2 separate regions of the Homo sapiens genome follow, and region 1 is linked to region 2. The links are contacts of gene promoters, found by promoter capture Hi-C in blood cells and fetal thymus (Javierre and others, 2016). All regions are on one chromosome and are shown on one strand. The core of a region is centred on a gene start or on the middle of the fragment in contact, and the rest is flanking DNA. Distances in the headings are between cores, read along the strand shown. Region 1 holds the start of IL2RG (interleukin 2 receptor subunit gamma). Region 2 overlaps NONO (non-POU domain containing octamer binding).

Evidence for each region. Contacts are between HindIII fragments. The CHiCAGO score rates a contact against its expected background, and 5 or more counts as called.
Region 1: the fragment with the promoter of IL2RG here is called in contact with a fragment that was not itself captured in region 2 in 7 of 17 cell types (total B cells, naive CD4 T cells, non-activated CD4 T cells and 4 more); the score reaches 10.7 in total B cells.

The regions. Positions count from the first base shown.
Region 1 is chrX:71,110,327-71,113,835 of GRCh38, reverse strand. IL2RG (interleukin 2 receptor subunit gamma) reads left to right here and starts at 2,259. Exons shown (of 8, transcript NM_000206.3): 1 at 2,259-2,411; 2 at 2,786-2,939; 3 at 3,148-3,332. The coding sequence starts at 2,297. RefSeq lists enhancers at 2,107-2,496, 1,599-2,798. The HindIII fragment of the contact is 3,788 bases long and covers 1,662-3,509 here.
Region 2 is chrX:71,294,044-71,297,511 of GRCh38, reverse strand. NONO (non-POU domain containing octamer binding) reads right to left here. Exons shown (of 12, transcript NM_007363.5): 5 at 2,984-3,285; 6 at 852-947; 7 at 465-661; 8 at 51-135. Among named protein-coding and RNA genes, the nearest start is that of ITGB1BP2, 6.0 kb to the left of the region's middle. The HindIII fragment of the contact is 894 bases long and covers 804-1,697 here.

The sequences.
Region 1 (3,509 bases), core at 1,010-3,509, 180 kb after region 2:
TGGAATTGATCATTGGAGCTTGGGCTTTATTCTGAAGGCCATGAGTAGCTTTTGAAGACTTTTAAATTGGAGAATGCCCTCTGTAGTGGGTTGAATGTGGCCTCCAAAAAGATATGTTCACTTGGAACCTGTGGATGTCACCTTCTTTGACAAAAGGCTTTTAGCAGCTGTAATTAAGGCAAAGCTCCTAGGAGAGAACACCCTGGATTAGGGTGGGCCATAAATCCAATGACAGGTGTCCCTGTAAGAGAAGAGAAGGATAAAGGAGATGCAGAGAAGAAGAAGAGGTAATGCAAAGATGGAGGCAGAGATTGGAATGATGTGTCTACAAGCCAAGGAGCACCAAGGATCGACGGCAGCCACCAGAAGCTAGAAGAGAGGCATGGAACAACTTCTTCCTCAGCGCCTCCAGAAGGGACCAACCCTGGCCACACTGATTTCGGACTTCTGGGCTCCAGAACTGTGAGAAAATAAATGCCTTTTTTTCCTTTTTAAAAAATTTTTATTTATTTATTTATTTATTTATTTGAGATGGAGTCTCACTCTGTTGCACAGGCTAGAGTGCAGTGGCGCAATTTTGGCTCACTGCAACCTCTGCCTCCTAGATTCAAGCGATTCTCATGTTTCAGCCTCCCGAGTAGCTGGGATTACAGGTGTTGCCACCATGTCTGGCTAATTTTTGTATTTTTAGTAGAGACGGGGTTTCACCAGGTTGGCCAGGCTGGTCTCGAACTCCTCAAGCAATCCACCTGCCTTGGCCTCCCAAAGTGCTGGGATTGCAGGCGTGAGTCACTGCACCCAGCCGAGAGAATAAATTTCTGTTGGTTTAAGCCACTCAGTTTGGGGATAACTTATGGCAGCCCTAGCAAACTAATACATACTAAAGATACATACTAAATACTAAGCTGGGCCATATAGTCCAGTTTTCCTGAGACTCCCAGGCAAGTGCTGTTTTTCTTTGCTTAATATCCTACACCACTTTCTGTCTGGTAAAATTACACTCATTCTTTAAGATGCCACTGAAATAGCACCTCTTCAGCACAGCCTTCACTAAACTATCCCCCTCTCCATCTTGGTAAATTTAGTTACTTCCTCTTCTGTGCTCACATACTTTGTAGTATCTCTACATTTATGCTATAGGACTTGTTACACTATGTTGTATTACTTGTTTATGTCTTCCCCACTTTTCTGTGAGTGTCTAGAAATATGAGGATGTCTTGTTGGTCTATTTCCAGAACATAAGCACAGTGCCTGGCACATATTAAAAACGTAATAAATGTTTGCTGAATAAATAGTTTCTGTAAGTGGCTTCTCCAATCACCTCTGTGTTTTCGGGGAAGGTAAAACTGGCAACAGGATGAAGAATGGATTAGAGAGCAGAGGGCCTTTAGAAAGGGAGGCCAGTTGATGGAGTCTAGATAGAATCATGACTAGAGCTAATGAAAGACTGATTTAGCAGAGTGGCTGTGGTAATGGAAAGGAGGAAACCGTTGGGAGAAACACCACAGAAGCAGAGTGGGTTATATTCTCTGGGTGAGAGAGGGGGAGAAATTGAAGCTGATTCTGAGGTTTCAAGTCTGGGTGACTGAGAGGGTGACGATACCATTGACTGAGGTGGGGAAGGCAGGAAGAGAAGCAGAGTTGGGGGAAGATGGGAAGCTTGAAGCTAGTATTGTTGTTCCTCCATTTCTAGAATATTTTTGTATTATAAGTCACACTTCCTCGCCAGTCTCAACAGGGACCCAGCTCAGGCAGCAGCTAAGGGTGGGTATTCTGGTTTGGATTAGATCAGAGGAAAGACAGCTGTATATGTGCCCACAGGAGCCAAGACGGTATTTTCCATCCTCCCAAAACAGTAGAGCTTTGACAGAGATTTAAGGGTGACCAAGTCAAGGAAGAGGCATGGCATAGAACGGTGATGTCGGGGGTGGGGGTTCAGAACTTCCATTATAGAAGGTAATGATTTAGAGGAGAAGGTGGTTGAGAATGGTGCTAGTGGTAGTGAACAGATCCTTCCCAGGATCTAGGTGGGCTGAGGATTTTTGAGTCTGTGACACTATTGTATATCCAGCTTTAGTTTCTGTTTACCACCTTACAGCAGCACCTAATCTCCTAGAGGACTTAGCCCGTGTCACACAGCACATATTTGCCACACCCTCTGTAAAGCCCTGGTTTATAAGGTTCTTTCCACCGGAAGCTATGACAGAGGAAACGTGTGGGTGGGGAGGGGTAGTGGGTGAGGGACCCAGGTTCCTGACACAGACAGACTACACCCAGGGAATGAAGAGCAAGCGCCATGTTGAAGCCATCATTACCATTCACATCCCTCTTATTCCTGCAGCTGCCCCTGCTGGGAGTGGGGCTGAACACGACAATTCTGACGCCCAATGGGAATGAAGACACCACAGCTGGTGGGAAATCTGGGACTGGAGGGGGCTGGTGAGAAGGGTGGCTGTGGGAAGGGGCCGTACAGAGATCTGGTGCCTGCCACTGGCCATTACAATCATGTGGGCAGAATTGAAAAGTGGAGTGGGAAGGGCAAGGGGGAGGGTTCCCTGCCTCACGCTACTTCTTCTTTCTTTCTTGTTTGTTTGTTTCTTTCTTTCTTTTGAGGCAGGGTCTCACTATGTTGCCTAGGCTGGTCTCAAACTCCTGGCCTCTAGTGATCCTCCTGCCTCAGCCTTTCAAAGCACCAGGATTACAGACATGAGCCACCGTGCTTGGCCTCCTCCTTCTGACCATCATTTCTCTTTCCCTCCCTGCCTTCATTTTCTCCCCAATCTAGATTTCTTCCTGACCACTATGCCCACTGACTCCCTCAGTGTTTCCACTCTGCCCCTCCCAGAGGTTCAGTGTTTTGTGTTCAATGTCGAGTACATGAATTGCACTTGGAACAGCAGCTCTGAGCCCCAGCCTACCAACCTCACTCTGCATTATTGGTATGAGAAGGGACGAGGGGGAGGGGATGAAGAAGAGGTGGGTTGGATCAGAGACCAAGAGAGAGGGTAGCAAGTCTCCCAGGTACCCCACTGTTTTCTCCTGGGGTAAGTCATAAGTCGGTTGAGGGGAGATGAGGCTAGGCTCTGGATATCTGCAGTACCCAGATTGGCCCCACTGTTCCTCTTCCTTCCAACCTTTCTCCTCTAGGTACAAGAACTCGGATAATGATAAAGTCCAGAAGTGCAGCCACTATCTATTCTCTGAAGAAATCACTTCTGGCTGTCAGTTGCAAAAAAAGGAGATCCACCTCTACCAAACATTTGTTGTTCAGCTCCAGGACCCACGGGAACCCAGGAGACAGGCCACACAGATGCTAAAACTGCAGAATCTGGGTAATTTGGAAAGAAAGGGTCAAGAGACCAGGGATACTGTGGGACATTGGAGTCTACAGAGTAGTGTTCTTTTATCATAAGGGTACATGGGCAGAAAAGAGGAGGTAGGGGATCATGATGGGAAGGGAGGAGGTATTAGGGGCACTACCTTCAGGATCCTGACTTGTCTAGGCCAGG
Region 2 (3,468 bases), core at 1-2,500:
AGACATTACCTTTTAGAGTTGTTAGGGAAAAAGTGTTCGAGAAAAGTTACCTGAGCTCCAGTTGCTTTCGTTTTTGCACCTCTTGGTTGTGCAGCTCTTCCATCCTCCGAAGTTCTTCTTGGCGCCTCATCAAATCTAAAAAAACAACAGACTAAGAATATTCCTCATTGTCTTCATATAGATCTAATGACTTTCTTCAAATAAAGATCCAGAAAGCAAAGAGGATCTAATTCCTTTGGAACCACCTGTGGTGTCCAGATTCCAAAATGAAGTTATACCTATCATTTCCTTCTCCACAGAATCCAGTATCTCTGCCACATCTCCAAGCCTATTTATCTACCAAAATCAACGCAAACTAAGTATAAAAGCAGAGATGTAGGCCCTTCTGTTAATTGATACAAAGAAACCCATTTAAAAATGTCATTTTGTCCTTTCAGCTTTAAGACTTACAGGCCTAGACTCACCCTGTCTCATTAGCATGACCTGGTGCTCATGGCGTGCAGCTTCCATCTCCATCTCCAGCTTCTCACGAGCCTCCTTGATGTTGCGGTCCACTTGGTCCTGCTGCTGCTTCTCCATCTCAATGAGTGCCTTCCAGCGCATGGCATATTCATACTCAAAGGAGCCAGGCTGTGCAAATCTGGGTGGCTGCTCTCGTTCCCTATAGGCAAGGTTCCTAGGTTACTAACTTTGTCCAGAATTACCCCAGCTAAGAATTGCATTCCTTGTGAGGACCAAGATAATGGCTGCCAGTGAACATGTGCAGCAAAGACCTGCCTCTTTTACATATCCCTTTATAAGCTTTCTTAAGAAGGAAACACCTAATAGGGAAATCTATCAAGACTGCATACTTGTGAAATTGCTGGTTTTTTATAACCAGCTTCTCTGGAAGTCCCTCTTCATCATCTAACTGGTCCATGGGCTCCACAGTCACAGGACGAGGAAATCTGGAAGAAAGAACAAAGTTCAGTGTTAATCAAATCATACCCCACCAGGCTTCTTCTCTACACATGTCACTGGCACAATGAATTAGCTAGGGCTCAGGATTGGAGGCTTCTGAAGTTTTTATACCTAATGACATTATAAAAAATTTGGGGTTGGGCTGGGGGTGGTGGCTCACGCCTGTAATCCCAGCACTTTGGGAGGACGAGGCGGGTGAATCATGAGGTCAGGAGTTCAAGACAAGCCTGGCCAACATGGTGAAACCCTGACTCTACGGACGTCTGTAATCCCAGCTACTTGGGAGGCTGAGGCAGGAGAATCACTTGGACCCGGGAGACAGAGGTTGAAATGAGCCGAGATTGTGCCACTGCACCACTCTAGCCCGGGCTACAGAGTGAGACTGTCTCAAAAAAAAAAAAAAAAAGAAAAGAAAAAGAAAAAAGAAAATCTGGGGTTGACAGGACGAAATCAGGACTTAGATCTCTGAATACAGTCTCAAAAAGATATTCCAAGTAGGTAGGTGCAGTACTTAAGTACAGCCTAAACATCTACAGACACTCTGAGAAATGACTTGTGGTAAACACTAAGAGATACTGCAGGCACAAATCAACTTTTCAGAACTCTAAATCTTCAAAGTAAAGAGAGACTTAACACTGACTACATGACAACCTACCGAATGACTAAAAAGTTATTTTTCATAATCGTCATCCCACGTCTATTAATATAAGATTACAGAAAAATCATACGAGAAAGCTTAGTACCAAAAGTCTTTTTTTTTGGAAACGGAGTCTTCCTCTGTCGCCCAGGCTAGAGTGCAGTGGTGCAATGTCGGCTCACTGCAACCTCTGCCTCCCGGGTTCAAGTGATTCTCCTGCCTCAGCCTCCCGAGTAGCTGGGATCACAGGCGCCCACCACCGCGTCCAGCTACTTTTTGTATTTTTAGTAGAGACGGGGTTTCACCACCTTGGCCAGGCTGGTCTCAAACTCAGGACCTCGTGATTCACCCGCCTCAGCCTCCTGAAGTGTTGGTATTACAGGCATGAGCCACCATGCCCAGGCTAATACCAAAAGTCTTTTTTTTTGGAGACGGAGTCTTGTTCTCTTGCCCAGGCTGGAGTGCAGTGGCGCAATCTCGGCTCACTGCAAGCTCCACCTCCCAGGTTCACGCCATTCTCCTGCCTCAGCCTCCAGAGTAGCTGGGACAACAGGCGCCCGCCACCACACCCGGCTAATTTGTTGTATTTTTTAGTAGAGACGGGGTTTCACCGTGTTAGCCAGGATGGTCTCGATCTCCTGACCTGGTGATCTGTCCCGCCTGGGCCAAAAGTCTTTTTTTTTTTTTTTTTTTTGAGACAGAGTCTTGCTCTATCGCCAGGCTGGAGTGCAATGGCACAATCTCGGCTCACTGCAACCTCTGCCTTCCAGGTTCAAGTGATTCTCCTGCCTCAGCCTCCCAAGTTGCTGGGACTACATGTGCGCTAATTTTGGTATTTTTATTTTATTTATTTGTATTTTTAGTAGAGACGGGCTTTCAGCATGTTGGCCAGGATGGTCTTGATCTCCTCAACTCATGATCTGCCCGCCTCGGCCTCCCAAATTGCTGGGATTACAGGCGTGAGCCGCTGTTTTGCCCAGTCTTTTATTTATTTTTTTGAGGCAGTTTCACTCTGTTGCCCAGGCTGGAGTGCAGTGGCGTGATCTCAGCTCGCTGCAACCTCTGCCTCCTGGGTTCAAGCGATTCTCCTGCCTCAGCCTCCCAAGTAGCTGGGAATACAGGCACACGCCACCATGTTTGGCTAATTTTTTGTATTTTTAGTAGAGACAGGGTTTCACCATGTTGGTCAGGCTGGTCTCCAACTCCTGACCTCAGGTGATCCGCCTGCCCCGGCCTCCCAAAGTGCTGGGATTACAGGAGTCAGCCACCATGCCAGGCTGACCAAAAGTCTTTAAACATAGAAAAGTGGTTACTAGAGGCTAACTCTCCAGACCATGGAAGGAATTAGCAATCTAAGGTCTACGTCTGAAAATGACCCTCACTTACGTGGTTAGCAGGAAGGAGCCTTCACTGCATCTGTCCAGAGCTTTCCGAGCAGCTGGCTTCCCTGAGAACTCAACAATGCCTTTTCCTGAGGGCCTTCCTCGATCATCCACAATGACTACAGCCCTCTCTACCTGGCCAAACACAGAAAAGGCTTCTTCCAGCAGTTCGTTGGACACATACTGAGGAAGGTTTCGAACTGTAAGGGATGCACTATGGCAGGCAAAGCGCACACGCAGCTGCTTTCCACGGAGTGGCATATTGTCCAGCTCCACTTTGGCAATCTCCGCTAGGGTTCGGGTTTCCTAGGAAGCAGAGGAAAATCAGAATAACTCAGTTTGACAAAGAACACCTTAGCAGCCATCAACAGTCTAAAGCAGTATAGTTCAATATCTCCCCGGAAAAACTAAACAACCATACAAAGAAACAGAAGTGAAAGAACTTAACTGTGTGCTTCAGCTCTTTGGCCACCCTAGTTTGCTTCTGAT